Linked DNA regions of Homo sapiens: regions 2, 3, 4, 5, 6 and 7 are each linked to region 1. The links are contacts of gene promoters, found by promoter capture Hi-C in blood cells and fetal thymus (Javierre and others, 2016). All regions are on one chromosome and are shown on one strand. Each heading gives the region's core, a stretch centred on a gene start or on the middle of the fragment in contact. The rest is flanking DNA. Distances are from core to core; before and after follow the strand shown.

Evidence for each region. Contacts are between HindIII fragments. The CHiCAGO score rates a contact against its expected background, and 5 or more counts as called.
Region 2: a fragment that was not itself captured here is called in contact with the fragment with the promoter of CNIH4 in region 1 in 8 of 17 cell types (total B cells, naive B cells, erythroblasts and 5 more); the score reaches 7.5 in total B cells.
Region 3: a contact is called between a fragment that was not itself captured here and the fragment with the promoter of CNIH4 in region 1, in 6 of 17 cell types (M2 macrophages, monocytes, total B cells and 3 more). The highest score is 8.8, in M2 macrophages.
Region 4: a fragment that was not itself captured here is called in contact with the fragment with the promoter of CNIH4 in region 1 in 4 of 17 cell types (monocytes, naive CD8 T cells, total B cells and 1 more); the score reaches 6.7 in monocytes.
Region 5: a contact is called between a fragment that was not itself captured here and the fragment with the promoter of CNIH4 in region 1, in 3 of 17 cell types (erythroblasts, naive B cells and monocytes). The highest score is 7.2, in erythroblasts.
Region 6: a contact is called between a fragment that was not itself captured here and the fragment with the promoter of CNIH4 in region 1, in 3 of 17 cell types (erythroblasts, naive B cells and total B cells). The highest score is 5.9, in erythroblasts.
Region 7: a fragment that was not itself captured here is called in contact with the fragment with the promoter of CNIH4 in region 1 in 11 of 17 cell types (total B cells, naive B cells, monocytes and 8 more); the score reaches 13.8 in total B cells.

Annotation. Positions count from the first base shown.
Region 1 is chr1:224,355,250-224,358,512 of GRCh38, reverse strand. CNIH4 (cornichon family member 4) reads right to left here and starts at 1,634. Exons shown (of 5, transcript NM_014184.4): 1 at 1,520-1,634. The coding sequence starts at 1,588. RefSeq lists enhancers at 784-1,284, 1,842-1,981 and a silencer at 1,192-1,561. The HindIII fragment of the contact is 2,727 bases long and covers 41-2,767 here.
Region 2 is chr1:223,706,431-223,709,693 of GRCh38, reverse strand. LOC105373281 (a long non-coding RNA gene) reads left to right here and starts at 2,044. Exons shown (of 3, transcript XR_949164.2): 1 at 2,044-2,326. It also overlaps a transcript of CAPN2 not described here. RefSeq lists enhancers at 1,336-1,835, 1,836-3,035. The HindIII fragment of the contact is 175 bases long and covers 1,733-1,907 here.
Region 3 is chr1:223,722,780-223,726,042 of GRCh38, reverse strand. All of the region lies in intron 2 of CAPN2 (calpain 2), which reads right to left. Among named protein-coding and RNA genes, the nearest start is that of CAPN2, 12 kb to the right of the region's middle. The HindIII fragment of the contact is 6,664 bases long and covers 1-3,263 here.
Region 4 is chr1:223,745,928-223,749,190 of GRCh38, reverse strand. It overlaps CAPN2 (calpain 2), which reads right to left. Exons shown (of 21, transcript NM_001748.5): 5 at 2,026-2,194; 6 at 69-152. Among named protein-coding and RNA genes, the nearest start is that of CAPN2, 35 kb to the right of the region's middle. RefSeq lists a silencer at 790-1,084. The HindIII fragment of the contact is 6,197 bases long and covers 1-3,263 here.
Region 5 is chr1:223,768,563-223,771,825 of GRCh38, reverse strand. CAPN2 (calpain 2) reads right to left here. Exons shown (of 21, transcript NM_001748.5): 17 at 1,917-1,985; 18 at 1,301-1,379; 19 at 1-17. Among named protein-coding and RNA genes, the nearest start is that of CAPN2, 58 kb to the right of the region's middle. The HindIII fragment of the contact is 2,356 bases long and covers 386-2,741 here.
Region 6 is chr1:223,786,899-223,790,161 of GRCh38, reverse strand. It overlaps TP53BP2 (tumor protein p53 binding protein 2), which reads left to right. Exons shown (of 18, transcript NM_001031685.3): 16 at 988-1,154. Among named protein-coding and RNA genes, the nearest start is that of TP53BP2, 57 kb to the left of the region's middle. The HindIII fragment of the contact is 7,487 bases long and covers 1-3,263 here.
Region 7 is chr1:223,813,006-223,816,268 of GRCh38, reverse strand. It overlaps TP53BP2 (tumor protein p53 binding protein 2), which reads left to right. Exons shown (of 18, transcript NM_001031685.3): 3 at 1,916-2,029. Among named protein-coding and RNA genes, the nearest start is that of TP53BP2, 31 kb to the left of the region's middle. The HindIII fragment of the contact is 789 bases long and covers 1,280-2,068 here.

The DNA.
Region 1 (3,263 bases), core at 385-2,884:
TGGACCACATGCAGCCCGTGGGCCGTGGGTTGGACAAGCTTGCTCTAGTTCCTTATATCACAAGAGGGGCATAGAGGTCATCAAAACTTAGGCAAGTGATGCTGCCCTTTCAATCAGCTCCCCAAACCTACTAAAACTCAGAAATCTTGTCGTTAGATATCATCAAAGTAAAAACTGCTGCTCAATTGGGGAGGGTGGGGACACGAAGGCAGAGCAATATTTACTGAACATTAGCTATGGGGCAGGCACTGTGCTAGGGTGCTCAGCACCATTCTCATTGTGCATATCTAGGAAATAAACATTTCCTATTTTAAAGATCAGAAAACTGAGGCTTAGGGAAATAATGTGCAAGCAAAGAGCTAGCTGACCAGGAAATCTGATTCCAAATTTTGTCCCTTTCCACTACAACAGGATGCCAGTCCACAATGAAAAATGAAGCTGCACTGAACATATACTCTGTACGACTATCCTAAAGCCCGCATGCTCTAGCAAACAAATGGTTTAATCCGATCAGAAACAGGTACATGTGATTTCCAAGAAAGGAAGCTGAAATGCGGAGTTCCTCATACGTTTTTTCTTATATTTAATTACTTAAACCTGGATGGTGCAATACAACATTGGGCAACAACTAAGCCTAGATGCTTTGTCAAGAGATGGGAAGAGTTGTAGCCGACATGGCTACTGCAGTGCTAAATTCAACCACCATTTATTGCTCTGGAAAACAGTTTGAATACTGCAACTTAAGTTTTAACATGGATCGATAGAAAAATTTAAAAGCTGAGAAACGATTGGGAACTACAGCAGATGTAGTTATTGAATTTACAGATCTGCAACCACCGGGGACAACCAAAATAATCACTTTGTAGACAGTTGTTAAAACAACTCCTTTCCAACACTCACTACAAAACGGCACAGTGAAGGAAGCAACTTCGCTCCTTTGGCGAATGAGTCAACTCCTGGATGTGAAAGGTCCCTGCAAGTACTAACACCCGCCAGAACAAAGGGGCGGGTGCCGGGGGTGTTGCGTGGGGAACAGGAGGAGGCAAATGGCCCGCACTTATCCCGGCACCCGACTGTCGCAAGCGACCGCCCTTGGGACCCCCAATATCCGACGAAGAGCACGGCGCAGGGCCTCTCCCAGAAAAACAGCGACGCTTCTCTCCCGAGGGCGGCCGTGGCTCAGGCAGGGCTGGTCCGGGCGCCGCGGGGACGAGCGGAGAGCAGGCGGGCAGGCCGAGACGGGGCGCGCCCGGAGAGGCCCACTCGGACCCGAGTGAGGGGCGGCCGGCAACCCAGGCAGGGCAAGTGCGTGCAGGGCAGCAGGGCCCGTCGGGTAGGGCAGCCAGCCTCTCCTACCCGCTCCGGGGCCCGCGCCACCGCCCCGGCCAGGCCAGCTCCCAGGGAGCCCACGCCCGCCGCCGGGCGCCTCCCTAGTCCCACACACCTGCCCGGGTGCCCAACTGGCCCACCCTCAGCCGTGTCCCCCGGCAAGGCGTTCGCCTGCCTCAGGCAAGGATACGAAGTAGACCGAGAGGAAGATGAGCGCGCAACAATCGAGGAGAGAGAAGACGAACACCACCGCCTCCATCCTCCTCCTCCGTCGCCGCCGCTCCTTCCGTCAAACCCGCTCGGATGCCCCGACCCACCCCTGATAGGCCCTTGCCGGGGCTGGCTGAGGCGTGTGGTCCTCGAATCCTGGTGTGGCATGCCGGGAGTTGTAGTCCATATTTTAAAAAACTCTACGGCCCTAATTCTGACGCATGCTGGGAATTGTAGTTCATTAGTACAAGTCCATATCAAAGAGGTGGGCAGGGCCTCTTTCATAAATCCGATTATTTCCAGAAATGGAATTAATCAACAAGTATTTACTCAACGCTTTTCTTTTAAAGAGCTGGGGTCTTGCTCTGTCGTCCAGGCTGGAGTGCAGTGGCGTGATAGAGCTCACTATGACCTCGAATTCCTGGGCTCAAGCAATCCTTCCACCTCAGCCTCCCGACATGCCCAGCTAATTTTATTTTATTATTTCTCATTTTATTTTATTTTTTGAGACAGGGTCTCACTCTGTCGCCCAGGCTGGAGTGCAGTGGCATGGTCACAGCTCACTGCAGCCTCTACCTCCTGGCCTCAGGTGATCCTCCCACCTCCGCCTCCTGAGTACCTGGGATTACAGGAATGTACCACCACGCCTGGCTAATTTTTTGTATTTTTAATAGAGATGGGGTTTTTGCCATGTTGCCCAGGCTGGTCTCGAATTCCTCGGCTCAAGCGATCTGCCTGCCTCAGTCTCCCACAGTGCTGGAATTACAGGCCTGAGCCACTGCACCAGTCTCTACTGAACGCTTTTAATCCGGATATCCAGTAGGATGTATTTCCCATGTGTGAAATTTTCTTTAGAGTTGGCTCTAGAACCATTGCATTCCCTGACTTAGGATTTGTAAGGGGTTTTCATCTCAAAGCACAAATCTAACTTAATGCTCCTGGCTTGACTTTTGCGATTTGCCCTTCCCTTCCTGATTTCAATTTCTCCAGAGATTTCACAGTCCTTTGTTTATCCTCTCCTACAGCAATGTTTCTCTCCTCTCTAGATTTTAAGATCTTTAAGAAGTGAATACGATGTCTTACTCATCCATTCATTCATTTAACAAATACAGTTGTATTTGCAGGGGCTACTTTCCAAGACCCCCAAGTGGATGCCTGACACGATGGATAGTACCAAACCTTATGTGTACTATGTTTTTTCCTATATATACATACCTATGATAAAGCTTAATTTATAGATCAGGCACAGTAGGAGATTAACAAGTAATAATAAGATAGAACAATTATACTGTAATAAAAGTTATGTAAATGTGGTCTTTCTGTCTCAAAATATCTTATTGTACTGACCCTTCTTTTTGAGATGATGTATGATGATAAAATGCCTATGTGATAAGATGAAGAGACAGATGCAGCCTCTCCAGTGATTTTTATATTTTTCAGTCCAAATCTATTCTTACATTCATGTAACTATCCATTACTTGCAGTAAGTGGCTTGGTATCACTCGTTTTAGGGAATCCCTCACTGAAGTCTTTGTATAGGCTCAATACTTTCTGGCTCAACACGTTGCCATCAATTGGCACATGTTTTCTGTTCATGTCTTCCACCCACAAATGTAATGCCTCTTCCATCTTTTTTGTGGTTGTTGTTTTAGTTTTTCTGAGATGAAGTTCACTCTGTCACCCAGGCTGGAGTGCAGTGGCGCCATTTCAGCTCTCTGCAACCT
Region 2 (3,263 bases), core at 571-3,070, 650 kb after region 1:
TAATCAAGTTAAATGGACTCTTTTTTTTTTTTGAGATGGAGTTTCACTCTTGTTGGCCCAGGCTGGAGTGCAATGGCACAATTTCGGCTCACCACAACCTCCACCTCCCAGGTTCAAGTGATTCTCCTATCTCAGCCTCCCGAGTAGTTGGGATTACAGGTGCCTGCCACCATGCCTGGCTAATTTTGTATTTTTAGTAGGGACAGGGTTTCTCCACGTTGGCTAGGCTGGTCTCGAACTCCTGACCTCAGGTGATCTGCCCACCTCTGCCTCCCAAAGTGCTGGGATTACAGGTGTGAGCCACTGCACCCTGCCGAAATGGAATCTTTAAAATGTGTTTATTTTATACTAATATGAGAGCCATGATGTTACCTTTTCTTAAAGCAAGTATTTTTGTCACTATTATTCCTCTGCCCCCATCTATTCTTGTCTCTGACACCCATTGCTTACCCCCTTTGCTTGACAAAACTTTGGTCAGACTTCTCTCTTTCCTACAGATCCCTGAATGCTGCTTGCCCCCAAGCCTGAACAAGCACAAACAAAGTGGAGTGTCCCTGCCAAGTCACTTCCCTGCCCAGCTTCTCCTGGGAATTGACTGAACACAGCAAGACCCTTTTCCTGTCAGCTCCCACTGGTCATTTCCCCTCACTTGTCCAGCTTCCCCTCCCAAGAGTCTGCTTATCTCCACTTGCTCCTCCTTTACCCTAGAAAAGAAGAATCTTTTTCTGTTTGATTTTGAGCTGCTTGCAGATTCTCTGAATTGGAATTGTCTTTCTCTCTTTTTTTTTCTTTTCTCTTCTCTTTTCTTTCTTTTCCTTCCTTCCTTCTCTTTTTCTCTATTTTTTCTTTCTTTCTCCCTCCCTTCTTCCCTTCCTCTCCTTCTCTCCTTCTCTCTTTCTCTCTCTCTCTCTCTTTCGCTCTTTCTTTCTTGTTTCACTCTTGTTGCCCAGGCTGGAGTGCAGTGGTGCAATCTCCACTCACTGCAACCTTCGCCTCCCGGGTGCAAGTGATTCTCCTGCCTCAGCCTCCTGAGTAGCTGGGATTACAGGTACCAGCCGCCATGTGCAGCTAATTTTTTTGTATTTTTAGTAGAGACGGGGTTTCCTCATGTTGGCCAGGCTGGTCTTGAACTCCTGACCTCAGGTGATCCACCTGCTTTGGCCTCCCAAAGTGCTAGGATTACAGGTGTGAGCCACTGCGCCTGGCCTGCAATAGTCTTTCTTTCTATTGAAGTGTCCCTTTATAAAAGTCTGGATTTTTTTTTTTTTTTAAACAGAGTTTCACTCTTGTTGCCCGGGCTGGAGTGCAATGGCGCGATCTTGGCTCATTGCAACCTCCGCCTCCCGGTTCAAGTGATTCTCCTGCCTCAGTCTCCCATGGTTTTGTTTTTATTTGACATCCTCCATCTCTGGTTTGCAAGTCTGGGCATGCTGCCTGATGGGCAGGTACCACCGTCCACCACCAGGCTTTGCTTTCTTTACTCTTGAATAAGGCGGGGACACAGGTTCCATTGTGTAATGGTTGGCACTCTGGACTCTGAGTCCAGAGATGGGGATACAGGCATTCATTTCTAGCTCATGGGTTTCTGGTGCAAGGGTTTCATGAAGCCATCACAATTGAAAACAGAGGAAAGCGACAGCCCTGTCCTGGAAGCTGTTCATTTGTTCCACTGTCTGATTTCCATTGGCCCCACCCCGACTTCTTCTGGGCTCGAGGCTCTTGGGAGAAAGCTTGTCCTTCTGCCCAGTGGGGCAGAGCGCAGGCTTCTCCTCCCACTGATCTCCTCAAGGACAGCTCATCTCTGGAGGAAGTGACTCCTCCCAGGCAGGTGGAGGTCATTTCCCTCCTAAGTCATTTTAGCAACAAATGGGCAGATCAGACCTATCATTCCAGTCAACTCAGAAGCTTTGCACAGCCTGGGAGCAGAAGAGCCTCCTGGCTCACCTGAAGTTCCTCTTCCCCAGCTAGGCAACACCCTCTTTGGTGCAGCCCTGGCCACTCCCCTTGCCAGCCTTCTAGGGATCGCTGCGCACATAGAGCTCTGCTTACAAAGGGCTTTAGGCTGTCCTATGCCACCCAAATTTAATTGCAAACACATACAATGACTACTTTCCCCAACCATTTGGACAAAGTCTAGTTTTTAAACCTGAGTTAATGTTGCTTTTTCTACTTCCCAAAGCCTCTCACACTATGCTATCTCACTGACCCAGCAAAGTCTTCTCTTTCTCTGACCACACAATCCTTTTCACGGGAACACAAGGACATAGACAAACACTTCATGGTGGAAAACCTTCCTGGAGTGAGTCAGCCAGCCCTGAGGATGGTGGTGAGTCAGAAACAGCTGGGATTATCCAGAACTGCCTGGGTCTGGGCCACTGACCTTGTGAGTAAATGAGAGAGGGAGTGAGAGAGAGAGATAGAAAGAGAGAGAGAGAGAAGAAGAGAGAGAGAGAGAGAAAATAAGAGAATAAGAATGTGTGTGTCTCAGAGGGCCATGGCAATGGAATCTTTTTCAGTAGTATTTTTCTTTAGATTATTTTCTCCCTGGCCCTGGATGTTTGAGATGCATCAGAGGCACAATCTGCAGGTTCTGGATTTTTTTTTTTTTTTTTTTGAGGTGGAGTCTCACTCTGTCACCCAGGCTGGAGTGCAGTGGCGTGATCTCGGCTCACTGCAACCTCCGCCTCCCGGGTTCAAGCAATTCTCCTGCCTCAGCCTCTTGAGTAGCTGGGATTACAGGGGCTCACTGCCATGCCCAGCTAATTTTTGTATTTTTAATAGAGACGGGGTTTCGCCATGTTGTCCAGGCTGGTCTTGAACTCCTGACCTCAGGTGATCCACCCATCTCGGCCTCCCAAAGCGCTGAGATTACAGATGTGAGCCACCGTGCCTAGCCAGGTTCTGGAGATACTAACCAAAGCTTCCTTTTTAATTTTGCACCTCCACGTGTCAGTCTCAGTTTTTATTTGACATATTTGTGCACTTTACACATATTTGTGCACTTAATCTTCACAGCCAGTCAAGGGAGATCTTATCTCCTCATTTAATGGATGAGTAAACAGAGGCCCAGCAGAGCAGCTGACATGTTGTGTTGTAGAGCCAGCCTGGCTGCCAACACCTAGACCATGGTCCCTTGGGGTCTGTCCATACCCAGTGTAGGAGGGCAGAGGGAACGGCAGGCCCAGGCAGAGGAAAAGAACCTGTTTTCTTCCCCTCCCTCTTTCAGGTCCGTGATTTGAATCCAAAGGAGATCACAGAGAATA
Region 3 (3,263 bases), core at 356-2,855, 630 kb after region 1:
GAACGTGGGAAACTTTCTCACTCGGATCCTGGTCTCCCGAGAGACGGAGGAAACCCACGAGGCCCTGGGTTCCAGTGGCACCTTTCTGTCACATAGTCTTAAAGTTCCCTGCATTGTAGGAAAAGAAAAAGAAAGGACGCAAACATCGTCATTGTTCCCATTTCGCAGATGGGTGAGTGGAAACTTATGGCTAGAGATCACAAGGTACTGGAAGCACGTGTATGTGCTGGGATAGGAGAGAGTCCACGTTCCTTGGCACTGAAGGGCCTCTGGCCCTTTGTGGGAAACATCAGGAGGCCATGACCATTGTGTGACCAAAGAAAATTACAGCAGGAAACTCCTCTGAGTTTCCGGACCTTCCCCCTGGGACACCACCTCCTCTGTCATACCCCTCTCCAAAACTTAGGTGGCCGCCAATGTCAAGTGCTAAAGCTGGGACCCAGTCGGGTATTCAAGATGTGCCACAATGTGTCTCCACCTCAGCGACGCGACCTCATTTGACAGTACTCCCCTCCAGCTGTACTGTCCCCAAAGAGAACGTGCAATCTGCATGGATTAAACCTTTACTATGTACCAGCCTCTGGAGCTCTGAGCTTTATATGTCTATTATTTCATTTCATCTTTACAGTCCTCTGAGGTAGACACAATTTTTTTTTTTTTGAGATGAAGTCTCGCTCTATTGCCCAGGATGGAGTGCAGTGGTGCGATCATGGCTCACTGCAACCTCCACCTCTCAGGTTCAAGCGATTCTCCTGCCTCAGCCTCCTGAGTAGCTGGGACTACAAGTGCATGCCACCACGCCCGGCTAATTGTTTGTATTTCATATTGTAGTTTTGTAGAGATGGGTTTTCACCGTGTTAGCCAGGATGGTCTTGATAGTAGGCACTATTATTATCTTCATTTCACGGATGAGGAAACTGAGGTGTGAAGAGGATAGTGATCCACTCAAAATGACAGAGCCAGTATGTGGCAGAATAAGAGGCCAGTCCCTAACTGCCAGACACCAAGTCCTCATTCGCTACCCTGATATTTACAGATGTTTATTGATGTAGGTTTAGCTGTTTGTTTTGAGACAAGGTCTCACTCCATCACCCAGGCTAGAATGTCATGGTGCAATCACGACTCACTGCAGCCTTGACCTCCTGGGCTCAAAGTGATCCTCCCACCTCAGCCTCCCAAGTAGCTGGAACTACAGGTGCACACCACCATGCCCAGCTAATTAAAAAAATTTTTTTTTGTGGAAATGGGTTCTCATTATGTTGCTTGGCTGGTCTTGAACTCCTGGGCTGAAGGGACCCTCCCACCTCAGCCTCCCAAAGTGTTGGGATTACAGGCATGGGCCACCATGCCCTGCCTGTTTATTGACGTCTGTGCATTGTTTGGCTCTGATGTGAATACTATCCCGCTTTGGAGAGTAAAGGCTGAGAGGCTGGATTCCAGAGCGCAACAGTCTGCTGCTGTGCAGTGCAGCAGCCACAAGGAACATGTGGCTATTTACATTTAAATTAAATAAAATTACAAATTCAGTTTCTCAGTTGCATGAGTCATATTTCAAGTGCTCCACAGCCACACAGGGCTAGTGCTGCTGTTTGGAGCAGTGCAGATATACACGGTTTCCATCATCACTAGAAGCTCTATGGGACAGGGGTGGTCTAGAAGTGGCCTCACTGCACACCTGCTGGCCAGGCCACCTCCTCCTGGGGCTCAATCATCCAGACAGTGTTGCTAGCCAGGACCCCAACAGACCTCATGGAACCCACGGTCCTTCATTTCTCAAATCCCCAGATGAGTGTCCCTTGGCTGGTCTTCTTGGGGACTGGTGCTGAACAAGGTGGAGATATAATTCCTCACAAACACCAGTCCAGCTAAAGCCAGATGTGTGAGGGTGCAGGGGGCTGTCGAGGAAGGTAACATTCTAAAGTCACAGAATGTCAGAAGTAGTGGGGCATCAGGAAAATCTGTTCCAACCTTCTAATCTCAGAGACAAGATAAGACAACTATGGCCGTATAGGGGCGTGGTCTGGCTCCTGGCCACAGGAAGCTGGTGGAAAATCTAAAGAGGCACCCAAACAGGCAAAGAGTCACCCCTGGATCCAGAGGCCCATGGGGAGCAGGCTGGAGCCCTGGAATCCCACTTTGCACGCCCTGTGGCTTTGCAGGAAAGTATATGGGAAATGGGGGATTCTTGAAGGGGGTCCCACTGCTCCTATTCCTGGAGAGGGGGCAGGGAGAGCTAAGGAGAGATTTGTTCTTCAGGCATCTGATGTAGCTGGAGACCGTGGGTACCATGGCCAAAGCTGAGGCAGCCAGGGTGGGACAGGGGCCTCCAAGCAACACAGCAGTGTTAGCAGTTCACCTGGACCTGTTGATGAGCTGTCTTAGATGCACGAAGGCAAGAGATGTCTCATCTCGTCTCTAAGATCTTAGATCTTAAGTGCAGAGGGAAGGCAGCTGGGAGTGTGGACGGCAGCCACAAGGGAGAAAAGTGCAAGAGCATTTACAACCAGAAGAGAAGCCGAGGGGACATGATGGCCCATGGACAATGTAGCCATGGACAGTGCCCTGGGAGGCTGGTAAGGGGGGTGCTGGGACTGGTGGTGAAGAGATCATTTTTAAGAAAAAGAATGGATTTACTTTCTCCATCAAACCAGCCAACATCTATTTGCTAGTCTTTAAACATTTTAACTACATGGGTACTTATTTATTTACTTTTTGAGATAAGTTTTCCCTCTGTTGCCCAGGCTGGAGTGCAGTGGCTCCAGAACCAGGCTGGAGTGCACGGCTCACAGCAGCTTCTACCTCCTGGGCTCAAGTGATCCTCCTGCTTCAGCCTCCCGAGTAGCTGGGACGACAGGCATGTGCCACCAAGCCCAGGTAATTTTTTTGTAGAGACAGAGTTTTGCTATGTTGCCCAAGCTGGTCCCAAACTCGGGTTCAAGCGATCCTCTTGCCCCAGCCTCCCAAAGTGCTGGGATTACAGGTGTGAGCCACTGCATACTTATTAAAAAGGCACCACAAATTCCAATAGACAGGCATCTTACAAAATCTCTGATCAATATTCCCCAAAACTGTCAAGGTCATCAAAATTAAGGAAAGACTTGAGAGACTGTCACAGCCCAGAGGAGCCGAAGGAGACTTGGCAACTAAATGAAACGTGGGGTCCTGGATGGGATCCCGGAATAGAGAAAGAACCTTAGGGGAAAACTAAGAGAATCTGCATAAAGCATGGACTTTAATAATACTGCATCAATGCTGATTCATTA
Region 4 (3,263 bases), core at 478-2,977, 610 kb after region 1:
CCACAAACTGTGCCTGTGGCCATCGTGTCAGGACAGCAGGACCCCTGCACATCCGCGCCGGCCGTTACCTCCTCGGCTCCGGTGACCGAGTACGCGTGCCCCTTCACCAGCTTCTGAAACGTGATGGCCTCCGAGTCCGCGGCGCTGGTGATCTGCAAACACAGCAACCGTCAGACTGGCCGCACCCGCTCTCCCTTCCTCCCGGACTCCCTCGCTCCCTCTGTCCTACTGCCGGGCGGGACCGCCGGACGCACTAGCGCAGCGGCCGAGGCCTGGGGTGGGAGGCTCAGGGCTGCGCTTTCTTGCACTTGGAGAACCTTTCCTACCCCGTTCAAATGCTTGAACGCCGAGAATACCAGAGAAAAGGCGGAATGCAACCCTCTCGCGGAACGAGCACAGGCATTCCCGTGTGAATAGCGCATCCACGGATTTCTGCAGGCTGGGAAGGGCGGGAAAGGGCGCACGGCCGAGAGAGGGCTGGAGGGGGTCCTCGATGGCGCAGGGAAAGGGCGCACGGCCGAGAGAGGGCCGGAGGGGGTCCTCGATGGCGCAGGGCTGATACCCAGACAGCCTTGAGTGGCCCAGGGACACTGAGCACACCCTCGCCCCACCACCAGCCCATGCTCCGTGGTCTGGCCCAGCCCAGCTGTAGGGTTTATACTAGGACGGTTGTTTATTCCGGTCTGAGTCAGAATTTGCTTCTGTTTTAAGAACGCCTCACAGCCTCTCCTTTCCCCTATCTATTCTGATGAAGGTTGAGCCTGGGAAGAAGGGCTGGAGCAGAAAGGGTCTTCTGCCTCAACGTGTTCTGCTGATAAACTTTGAGAATTCCTGCCTAGGGAGTCTGACCTAGATTTTGGCTCCAAAAGCCAGGGCTTCTTATCTCTGTCCCCCGCAGAGACCAGAACCTGGATGGGACAGGGCTCAGAGGTTGGGCACAGCCTTTGCTCCAAGGCTCCTGGGCACAGTGCCCACCTCCCATCCCCTGGTGAGCGTTGCCAGCAAGGCTATTATGAGGAAATCTTTCCTCCTCTTCCTTCCGAAGTCTCCCACGGGCCTATTAGCTCTGCAAGAGTGCAGGGGAAGGCTGCACAGCACTGCAGATGGAGGGGAAGGTGGCAGGGGCAGCAGGTGGCAGGGGCTCCCAGGGAACCTGTGGTCAGAGGGGTGGGGGTGATTCAGAGCAGGCTAAGAGTGGGAAGTGGACTGAAGACAGAAGGGCTGGAGGCACCATCACCCCATCCATTACACCCCAGACAGCTTGACTTTTGCCTAGCAACCCTTGGCTTCCAGGTGATGAGCAATAATGGTAGACACTGGGGTGCTCAGAAACCAATACCTCTAAGAGATGGCACTTTGAAATGCTAAACTGAAGAAGCCTCAAGATCTCTCTGACCTCCCCTTTCCTTCTGTCTCTCGATCCACTCTCCCCCAAAGCACAGGAGGAAGCTATTCTCTGAAGTTCCCTCACCTGCCTAAAGTCTGGACCTGCCAAAGATGAAAACAATGACGTCTGGTCCTTTCCATGAGTTATTATGAACTGAACTCATATTGCAGGAAGAAAGACAAGTCTGTCAACATGGCTAGACAGACTTGTCACAAACCACTGTCTGCTCTGCAGGCCCAACAGACTTTATCCCAGACCATTTATGTTCTTTAAGCCCAATGAATTCCCCTAAAAATCATTTACGACATCCCTAAAATCATCCGCACCTCCCCATCTCCCTTCCCCTAAGAGGAAGGGAATATAACCCTCTGTATCCCAATGCGTGGTAGGGAAATCTCTTGTGATTCTCCCCTGTCCACATTCATACATTTGTATGCCATTTCTTGTATTAGTCTTCCTTTTGCCAGTTGATTTTCAGCGGACCTTCAGAGGGTGGAGGGAGGTTTTCCTTTGGCCCCTACGTGGACGAGGGCTGCATTACGTTGTACACAGGAGCAGTGGGTTCCCTTGGGCACTGTGGGAGCCTCCCTTCAGCAAGAGCAGATGGGGTGAGGCTAGGGAAGGCAGCCTGGACTTACGTCGATGGAGCAGCCAAGGAGAGAGCCTTTTTGCAGAGCTTTCTGGATGATCTTGAACAGGTTGGGAGGGGGCTTCTTCAACTCATACCACTCAGCAATGCCTCCGGTGAAGTCTTCGAAGCCCTCAGTGGTGGCACCCCCTGATAGCGCTTCATAGCATCCGTTGATCCTACAAGAGGGGATTAGACGCTGCCGCTACCCTTGACACTACTGATGCTATAATCTCTCAAACAGCCACCCCCTAGTACCGTCTAGATTTGATGCTCCAGGGACCCCCTGCTCACATTCTCCTTGGCCTTGTTCCCAGCTCGGGGTGCTCAGGAAGGCAAGGTATAATGTCCACAGTTACCATTTCCCTGGTATTTTGTGTTTTAAAGAAAATCTCAGGCCGGGCGCGGTAGCTCATGCCTGTAATCCCAGCACTCTGGGAGGCCGAGGTGGGCGGATCACTTGAGGTCAGGAGTTCAAGACCAGCCTGGCCAACATGGCAAAACACCATCTCTACTAAAAATACAAAAAAATTAGCTGGGCATGGTGGTGCATGCCTGTAGTCCCAGCTACTTGGGAGGCTGAGGCAAAAGAATTGCTGAAACTCAGAACGTGGAAATTGCAGTGAGCTGAGATCATGCCGCTCACTCCAGCCTGGGTGACAGAATGAGGCTCCGTATTAAAAAAAAAAAAAAAAAAAAAGATTCTCGTAGAACCTTAGAGTCGGAAGGACCTTAGTGATTTTCTGGATGAACCTCCTGTATTGATTCCTTCTACATCCTGACAAGAAAGGGGAGGTCTACTAATGGGTCGTTTGGCATTGATAGCTTAAAAAAGGACAACCATTCAATAATGGAAGCAGTTTCTCTGAGAAACAGGCACGGTGTTGGCAAGGGCTTAGTGCTCCTGACTGCTGATGCTGGAGTCCGGTGGCTTCCCTGACCCCAGTATTGAGCAGTGGGACTTAGAAGCATCCGTCAGGCTCCAGGTTCTCACAGCTGACTCCTCCTTCCTGGATTGGGACTGTAAGAAACAGAAATCCACTTGCTGCTCTAAAGTGGGGTCACTTTAATGGAAGGAGCCGGGCGGCACAGCCAACATGGGGCCATTGTGGAGAGGGGCTGGTGTGGGGCTTCTTACTGAGAGTGGGCAGCCCTGAGCACTGGACAAACTCAACTGTGGGCAACCTGGGTGGGAAGCAGCTGTGCGGAGATGGGGAAGCCATTGCTAATCAGTGACATCATCTATTC
Region 5 (3,263 bases), core at 314-2,813, 590 kb after region 1:
ACAGGGCATCTTGAAACCTGAAGTTACATGAACAAACAAACTCATTGCTAAGCATTAGATTGTTCCATTTAGCTGCGCTCACAGGCTATGAAACTAATGTGGTGATTTAAATGAGGTATAATTGCTTTTGTCCCTTGGCTGCTCTTCTGTGAGACTGGTTTGATTTTGCAAAGCCAGTACCTTCTGCTGTTTCTTTTGTTTTTGAACTGTCCACCTTCACCCTGCCTGTGTCCTTTGCTGACACATAAGTGTTTTCTTGCCTGTTTCTGTTCTCATGGTCACAGTTGCTTCATGTTGTTAACCATGCTGCTGCTGTTTGATTTTTTGTTTAGCTCTCAATCGTCTTGAAGATCAGATTCTTCCTGGATATATGTGAGCAGAAGCTTTCCTGGTAAACTCATAGTAGTTCTCTCTCCTTCCAGAGTAAAATAATTTTTATTGAGCCTATGGCCACCTAGCATCAAGACTGCATGTCCCAGCTTCCTTGCAGTCAACAGAGGCCTTGTGATCAGAGTCTGGCTGGTGGGATGTGTGACCGGAAATGGCCTGTGTGCCCTTAAAGGCAAGGGGCCCTTCTTCTGTCAACCTGTTGGTGGCATGTGTTTGTGGTGGCAGGCTGTCCCAGGTCCCTTGGATGAGGGTGACCCTTGAAGGTCCGGTGGGCATCATGGATGGGGGGAGGCTGGGGGAAGCGTGATCAGATAGTGACATGGTAGGATAGTAGGAGGCACCGTCCTAGCCGTGGACTGCTGGAGCTGGGATTGCTATACGACAGAAAGACATACCTCGTATAAACCAATGTTGTGTGGGGTCTCTGCAGCAGCATTATATTCCAGCAAATAGAATGAACAGCCTCATGCTGACACATTTGTTCCCAAAGCCCAGCAGTCTCCTGCTTTGCTGGTCTACCACTCGCTTGTGTCCTTTTATTGATATCCAATTCTGCTAGGGTCTTACCCTAAGGGCTGAGCTGAGACATTTGATTTCTGCCTAACCAACCCTGCACCAGAAAGGAAGCACCTGGAGGAGGCTGTTGAGACCTGGCTTTGCCTGCTTACTGTGCCAGGCGGCTCCAAAGGAAACTTGGATTCAAGAAGGCACAGAGGGCAGAGCATCCTACTGCATTTAATTTTACCAATTAGTCTTTGAAAGGGGAATGAAAAGGAGGTGTCTGTATTAAACCAGCACCTACTTTATTTTATAGCTTTACCAAATCTTGTGTTATATGGTATAAGATGAGTGTTCACATATTCTACAGACAGATTAAACTAGGAACGAAAATGCAGTTATAAAGGGTTACCTGCTTCTTCTAATGCCTTCCGCATTTCATAGGAATTCATGGTACCAGACCTGTCAACGTCGATTTCTCGGTAAATTTTCTGGAACACATAAGTTAGCTGTAAGAACTATGACCCAAAGCAAAGCTGGCAAGTTACCTCCCTAGTATGTGCTGAGTGGGGATGAAGTTTTTCCAGCTCTGTGCCTCTAGTTTGGCCGTGGAAGAATCACTTATGTTTCTGCCTTAAATAACTAATAGTATTTTGCTTCTGTCTGTGAGCTGGTTTGTAAATATGCCCATCAAATCAGCCAGCCAACGCCCATAGGTCCATGTTCTTGTCTTATATAATTTTTGTACTTTAGCTGTCAAAAACCCTTTTCAGGAAACCCTTGATGGTGGCCTTTAGATGATCCCAATAATCAGGAGGAAGGGAATAGGCCATTTCACCTGCGAAGTCCTGGTTGGTTTTTTGTTTGCATTTCCTCAGCCCCATCTTTACTCACTCTGAGCTTCATTATGGGTAAAATCCCAATCCCCTTGGAAATGTTTCTCCACTCTGTGCAGGAGTTGCTGCATCTTAAAGCATATGAACAGAATGTTTCCCAACACAGATCCACCCGCATCTCTGGGATCTTACTTGGTATTTTTGAATCTTCGTCCAGAGAATGTAGAACTCCTTCAGCCCCAGCTTGCCACTCCCGTCCGACTGCCTTCAGTCAAGGAAAGCCCTTGAGTGTGGGTCCATTTGCACATAGTGTCACCTAGTTTGTCTTCTCAACTGGATCTTTTGAATATCATAGCATATACACAAGGAGGGTTTGCAGAAGGATCCTTTTCCTGCTTTTCCCACTGGCTAAACCTCCATTTAAAGGATTGGAGGAAGGGCGAGAAAGACCTGCTGGCTCCCTGCCGAATCTGGTTGCTGTTTTGATCTAGGGGTGCTGTGGAGGCCCCAGATACTACTAAAAATGAGGTATTGGATGACATGCAGAGGGCTTTGGATGGCTTCTAGTGGCTAGGCCCTTGCTGTTTTTTTTAAAGTATGTGGAGTATATCTAAGAGGCCTTTGGTGAAGGGAGCTAGCAGGTGTACACCATGAATCCACTAGATAAAACTTCACAGAAGTGGCCAGGCATGGTGGCTCACACCTCTAATCCCAGCACTTTGGGAGGCCAAGGTGGGCAGATCACCTGTGGTCAGGAATTCGACACCAGCCTGGCCAACACGGTGAAACCCTGTCTCTACTAAAAATAGAAAAATCAGCTGGGCATGGTGGCGCGCACCTGTAGTCCTAGCTACTAGGGAGGCTGGAGGGGGGAGAATCACCTGAACCTGGGAGGCGGAGGTTCGAGTGAGCTGAGATCATGCCACTGCCCTCCAGCCTGGGTGACACAGTGAGACCCCGTCTCAAAAAACCAACCAACCAACTAAACAAACAAACAGAAAAAACTTCACAGAAGCTTAGGCTGCCCCTTACCACCACTTCTCACTAAGCATTGGAAACAAGGGGGAAATGGATGACTAGTTTGCCTTGGGGAAAGGTGGGTGGCCTGGGAAGGAGCTAGAGCAAAAGGGAAGTAGGATCCTCATGAAAGTAGCCCTTATCTAAATCAAGAAGACGATCTTATCCAACTTACAAGGGATGTGAAGGACCTCTTCAAGGAGAACTACAAACCACTGCTCAAGGAAATAAAAGAGGATACAAACAAATGGAAGAACATTCCATGCTCATGGGTAGGAAGAATCAATATTGTGAAAATGGCCATACTGCCCAAGGTAATTTACAGATTCAATGCCATCCCCATCAAGCTACCAATGACTTTCTTCACAGAATTGGAAAAAACTACTTTAAAGTTCATATGGAACCAAAAAAGAGCCCGCATCGCCAAGTCAATCCTGAGCCAAAAGAACAAAGCTGGAGGCATCACACTACCTGACTTCAAACTATACTACAAGGCTACAGTAACCAAAACAGCATGGTACT
Region 6 (3,263 bases), core at 558-3,057, 570 kb after region 1:
CTCAGCCTCCCCAGTAGCTGGGATTACACACCCGGCTAATTTTTGTATTTTTAGTAGAGTTGGGGTTTTACCATGTTGGCCAGGCTGGTCTCAAACTCCTGACCTCAGGTGATCTGCCCGCCTCGGCCTCCCAAAGTGCTGGGAGCCACTGCGCCTGGTCTAAATTTTTTTTTCAAGTCTGTATACCCAAGGAGAATAAAGGGGAGAGGAAAGAGTAAAGAAACTAAATCTTATGTACTTTAGAGCCTGATTAACATTTTCACACTCAACTTCTGAGTTTGGACAGTGGTACTGGCTCTTGTACCTTTACCATTACTCTAGGGTCATTTATAATCTATTATAAAACATTTGAGATGCTGGAGTTCTCTTTAATGGTATTAATAAATTCCTGCTGACCAGTTACCTATAGTTGAAATATGTGTATTTTACAGTCACTTTTCTGGTCTCAATTGATTTGACAAATTTTTTCAATTAAAATTTGTTTTAACTTGGGATTTAAAAAATATAAAAGTAGTTCATCTATGCAACTTAATTCCTTCAAAATTGATGACGATAAATAGATATTTAAAGGCCAGTGTTTTGAGTGAAGGTGTATAACTTAAATAACTTAAGGACTGTTAGGGCTTCTACTCTGAAAGAATTAGGCTGGATGCTCCAGGACATAGAACTAAATCCATGTTAATATTGTTTTTCTTAAATGTTTATACACATTTCATTTCTGTTTATTCACGTCCTTGATTCTTCTCACCCTTTGCTAAGCTCCCAGCCCCATTGTGGTCCATGACTCTCTGAAATTTTCATTTGTGGCTGTAATTCTTTGATGGGTTCAATCATCTGTGTTGAACTGGTTTTTAAAAAACTGTTTAAGAGGTTTTCAGAAGAAAACTTGGTAGATGAGAGACTCAAGAACTTTCTTTCCAGATATCTTATCAGCAGGTGTCATTCAGTTTAGGAAAACAGTTCTAGCCCTCGTATCTTGCTTCACAGGACTCCATTACATTGTGCTGCCTCATGTAACAACGTCCAAGTGTGTAAGTTTTTGGTGGAGTCAGGAGCCGCTGTGTTTGCCATGACCTACAGTGACATGCAGACTGCTGCAGATAAGTGCGAGGAAATGGAGGAAGGCTACACTCAGTGCTCCCAATTTCTTTATGGTATGTGACAAGTAGAACTAAATGTATTGATTACTGCATTCATTTATTCTGTATCTCCAGGGTATAATTCAATAAGTATTTTTGTTTGGAAAAAATCTTGTGTTATCCATAGTCTTGGGCCTTGAAAATACAACAGCCTTGGTCACAGATAATACAGCTTCTGTTTGTATGCTTAGAAACAGCTATTGTCAGGGACTTCTTCAATTACAAAAGACAGTGTTGCAGCATCTGACCTAGTGGTGTTAATGACTTTGACCATCAAAAGACCCTCTATTAAGGCTTTAGTACTTATAGATTGATGGTGTATCCTTGCAAATAAGTAAACAGACCCCCCTCTCCTAACAACATGATCAAGAGAAGTGAAGGATCAGTTTAAGAACCCAAATGGTCCAAGTTTTCCTAAAAATCAAACTTGTCATAAAGTGAAATAAAGGCAACATATATTTTGGAGCTGTCTTTTATTTTTTTCTCTTTTGTTTTCTTGATTTTGAGTTTATGATTCTGATTGCTAACATCAGATCTGTACCTAGAGGAAAATGGACTTGAAGTTTTAGATAGATATATGTTGATTGGCATTTGTATATACAAGGAAAATTTTTTTTGTTTACAAGGCTTAGAAGTTGAGGTAAATTTTCCTCTTTAGTTGGGCTTGAGAGGAATTAAAGAAGGAGGGAAGACAGAGACAAATGAGGAGGTCCCAGAACTCCATACTGCTCAAGTTTTCAGTAACTCCTTTCCCAGTTGATTGGAAGACCCCTAAGGGTAAAACAGACGCCTCTGCCCTCTCTGCTGAACTTTTCCCTCTGTCTCTAGGCCTTTTTTCAGGCCCTAGGTATGAAGAGAGAGGGGTCAGAGAACCACAAACCTGGAGTTCCCTTCTTCATCTCTCTCAGCTGGTAGTTTTTAATTGCTGATATTTGTGATTATTTTATTTTTTTAGAGGCGAGGTCTCACTCTGTCACCCAGGCTGGAGTGCAGTGGCATGGTCATTGCCCACTGTAGCCCCAAACTCCCAGGCTCAGGTGACCCTTCTGCCTCAGTCTTTCAAATAGCTGGGACCACAGGCACCTGCCACCACACCTGGCTAATTTTTAATTATTATCTATTTATTTATTTATTTATTTATTTTTGAGGTAGGGTCTTGCTCTGTCACTCAGGTTGGAGTGCAGTGGCACAATCACAGCTCACTGCAGCCTTGACTGCCAGGGCTCAGGTGATCCTTCCACCTCAGCCTCCAGAGTAACTGGGACTACAGGCATGTACTACCACACCCAGCTAGTTTTTGTATTTTTAGTAGAGATGGAATTTTGCCATGTTGTCCAGGCTGGTTCTCAAACTCGTGAGCTTAGGCAATCTGCCTGTCTTGGCCTCCCAAAGTGCTGGCATTACAGGTGTGAGCCACCATGCCTGACCTTTTAAATTTCGTTTGGAGTTGGGGCCTCAGTCTGTTGCCCAGGCTAGTCTCAAACTCCTGGCCTCAGAGAATCCTCTTGTCTCAGCCTCCCAGAGCTGAGATTACAGGTGTGAGCCACCATGCCCAGCCTTTGTTTATGTTTTAAACTCTGGACCATAGAATATTTTGATATAGTAACATATTTAAAAATTTATATATATAAATATAAATTTTATATATTTATGTATGTATTTTGTTTTTGAGACAATCTTGCTCTGTTACTTAGGTTGGAATGCAGTGGTGTGATCATAGCTCACTACAACCCTGAACTCCTAGGCTCAAGCAATCCTCCCACCTTGGCCTTCCAAAGTGCTGAAGTTATGGGCGTTAATATAATGTGTTAACCGGTATAATGTGTTGGCCGGGTGTGGTGGCTCATGCCTGTAATCCCAACACTTTGGGAGGCCGAGGCAGGTGGATCTCTTGAGGTCAGAAGTTCGAGACCAGCCTGGCCAACATGGTGAAACTCCATCTGTACTAAAAATACAAAAATTAGCCAGCTGTGGTGGCGGGCACCTGTAATCCCAGCTACTTGGGAGGCCGAGGCAGGAGAACTGTTTGAACCCGGAGGCGGAGGTTGCAGTGAGCTGAGACCATGCCATTGCACTCCAGCCTGGGCAACAAGAGTGAAACTTTGTCTCACAAAAAAAGCCGGG
Region 7 (3,263 bases), core at 425-2,924, 540 kb after region 1:
GATGCCTGTTATGTGCTAGGGACTGCACTTGATTGAGAGGGATACAGAGATGAAAGTTGCCTTCAGGTATCTTACAGGGCACAAAGAGAAACAAGTATCCACAGACATTTATAATACAATGTGATAGTTGCAGTAATAGATGTATTTCATCTGCAGGAGAAAAGGGTGCTGGGGGAGATGATGAATGATAGGAATGGCATGTTCAGAGTCACATAGGCAGGAATGCCCTGTCAAGGAGATACAGTCATGTGTCAATAATGGTGATACGTGCCGAGAAATTTGTCATTAGGTGATTTTGTTGTGTGAACATCATAGAGCGTACTTACACAAATCTAGATGGTATAGCCTACTACACACCTAGGCTATATGGTATACAGCCTTTTGCTCCTAGGCTACAAACCTGTACAGCATGTTACTGTATTGAATACTGTAGGCAGTTGTAACACAGTGGTACATATTTGTGTATCTAAACATAGGAAAAGGTACAGTAAAAATATGGCCTTAAAATCTTATGGGACCACTGTCAACATGCAGTGCATGACCGTAGGTGTGGCTGGCACATGAGTGTTAGTAGGGAGCTTTGAGAGCCTTTAAGTGTCTGTTTCAGCTTATGCAGGCCTATGCCTGATCTTTTGCCATCACAGGGCCATCGGGATGTTAGCCTAGAGCTTGTGAGAAGTCCATATCTTTCTGGGGCAGTCCAGCGTGGACAGCAAGCTACTTTACTTCCTTTGAGTTCTCTCTTTGCTCCTGGAACCTGGAGATTTTACTTGTTTTGAGTACAGCATGTGTGTGTGTATTTTGTAGGGGTGGGTGGAAGGGCTACTCAGAATTTCTTTTGGAGGTGTTTCTCTCTAACTGTGGTGTATCCTTTTTGGGGGAGGTCTTAGAATATGTGTGGTTTATAAAAGGGGATTATCTATGTCAACTCAGTATGTTATGTTACTGGAAGTAGAACCAGAACTGCATTTTGTTGCAGCCAAGCAGATTAAGTTCAGGGTTGGTTCACCAAATTGGCTGGTGAATGCTTGCCTGCTCTGTTCTCTGCCCATGTTTATTTAAGGTGTTAAGATAGTGTCCTTGATTACTGATAAATGTGTTGAGTTTTCTTAGGGTATTTCAACATTCTTATATTTAAAAATCATGTTGACATTACTGGAGTTTCATTGATTTTAAGCAATTGCCTCCTCAAACAGTGTGTCTCGTTTTTATATCCAGATCCCTTGAGATTGGAAGATTTTTTTAGGACAGCTTGAGATATATTGTTTCTCCTGAAGCTTCTATTTTTACTAGGTATTTAGGTGTGCCCTTCTTTTTGTTTCCAGAAAAATTCTGACACTGGTATTCTCACTGGAAGAGGGGCAAATATAGATACATTTTACAGCAGTAAATAGACTTTTATTTGGAAATGGATGGGTCTGATTTTTTTAAATATTGTTTGTAAAATTATAATTTAAAAATAGCCTGTATTGAAAACTACAATTAAAAAAAAAAGACTAGGCTATTTAGAAAGTTGCTTTTTAATATTTTCTTTGTATATTCGGAGAATCATGAATATTAGTGTTAGAAGGGACTATGTGATCTAATATAGATTTTACAGAAACTTTTGGAACCACAGAAGTTAAATGGTGCACCTGTGGCCAGCGTGGAGCCCACTGGATTTAGACTGCTGAGCTCCTGACAGCTGGCTGAGATGCATTGCCTTTTGTAGTATTCCACCCTGGCTTGACTCTGTGTGTGTGGAAAATCTGTGTGACTTCAGTTTCTAAGACGTGTTTTAATGAAAAAAATTTACCTGAGATACTAAGCATTTGTTGTATCCATAATGTATAATTTGCATGAAGGATAGATGGTGAATGATATATTTATCTTTCTTTTACCTGAAAATAATGTGGTTTCTACTCATTTGCTTTAGAACGTCCAGTTGCGGATAATGAGCGAATGTTTGATGTTCTTCAACGATTTGGAAGTCAGAGGAACGAAGTTCGCTTCTTCCTTCGTCATGAACGCCCCCCTGGCAGGGACATTGGTAGGTAGTGCTCTGTGAATCGTGACAGATATTTAAGCTTTTATTTTGTGCTGGGAGTAGTAGGTGGCACATGATGAGAAGCCAGGTAATTTGAGAGGTGAAGGAGAGGTTAGGAAGTGGAAACAGTGGAGATAGGCTGTCGAGGGGAGAAGTTTGACTATAGTTGTTTAATGCAGGTGGGAAGGAGTCATTAGAGCAGGGGGTTGAAACTATAAGAAAGGAAATACTTGTTAGGCAGGGTCCCTGATTAGGTCCTTCCACAGCCCTGAGGCAGAAAGTCCTCTTAGACAAGAGGAAGGATCCCTCTTCCATAATAACAGGACAGAAATAAAACTGTGGCAGATGTGGCTAAATTTGTGCATTTTGTGGGAGTAAGTTGAGGGATTTCTCATCTAAAAACATTTGTTTTCTCTGAGGTAGGAGTGATGATGGAGGTGGGTGGGAAGCTGGAGCTGTTTTGGAGATTAGGAGAGAGGGCTTACTAGGGAAGCCAGACTGCTGGGAACCATTGAGGCCAGTTGAGATTAGAGACCATGAGACCATACATGATTTTTCTCCAGTGGTGGTCTACAGCCCAGGTGGGTTGTAAGAAGAGAAGAAAACAAAGGTGTCTAGACAAATTTTTCTAGGCAATTGTCTAGAAAACCCAAGGTTTCTAGACAAATTCAATGGGAGTTCAGTGGGACAGGGGAGAAGAGGGTATTGGCAAGGTGATACCTTAGCTGGGTGGGGAAGAAGTGAAGACAGGAGGGGCTGTGGGGAAAGAGTAGACAGAGTTAAGAGGCTGTGAGTCTCAGTTAGATGAAAGAACAGGTGTGAGAGGAAATGAGTGAGACGCCTGAGATTGAAAGGAAATAGTGGTCAAAAAACAGAAGGTTTGAATTGAAAATTTCGGAGGTAGAGGGCTTCTAGTGTTGTGGTCCCAGGTGGGGCCCTGAAATGAGGCTGAATTAGAGTGGAGACGAGAAAGCTAGAACTGAGAGGCTAGCATTTGGGCGGTAATGTCATCCAGAATGAAGGCAGGACTTGGAGGTGGAGAGAACAAGGGAGTCAGTTGGTCACATCGTTAGTGACCAGGGATTGTGACCAGAGTTTATAGATGACTGTAGGGGGAGGGTGGAGAGAGAGTGTGGGTGGGAAGCAGCAGTAGACACTGGGGACACAGCCATCCCTGTGACCCAGCAGTCTTGTAGGATGTGGGAGAACGAGCAGGGTTATTGGACATTACAAAAGC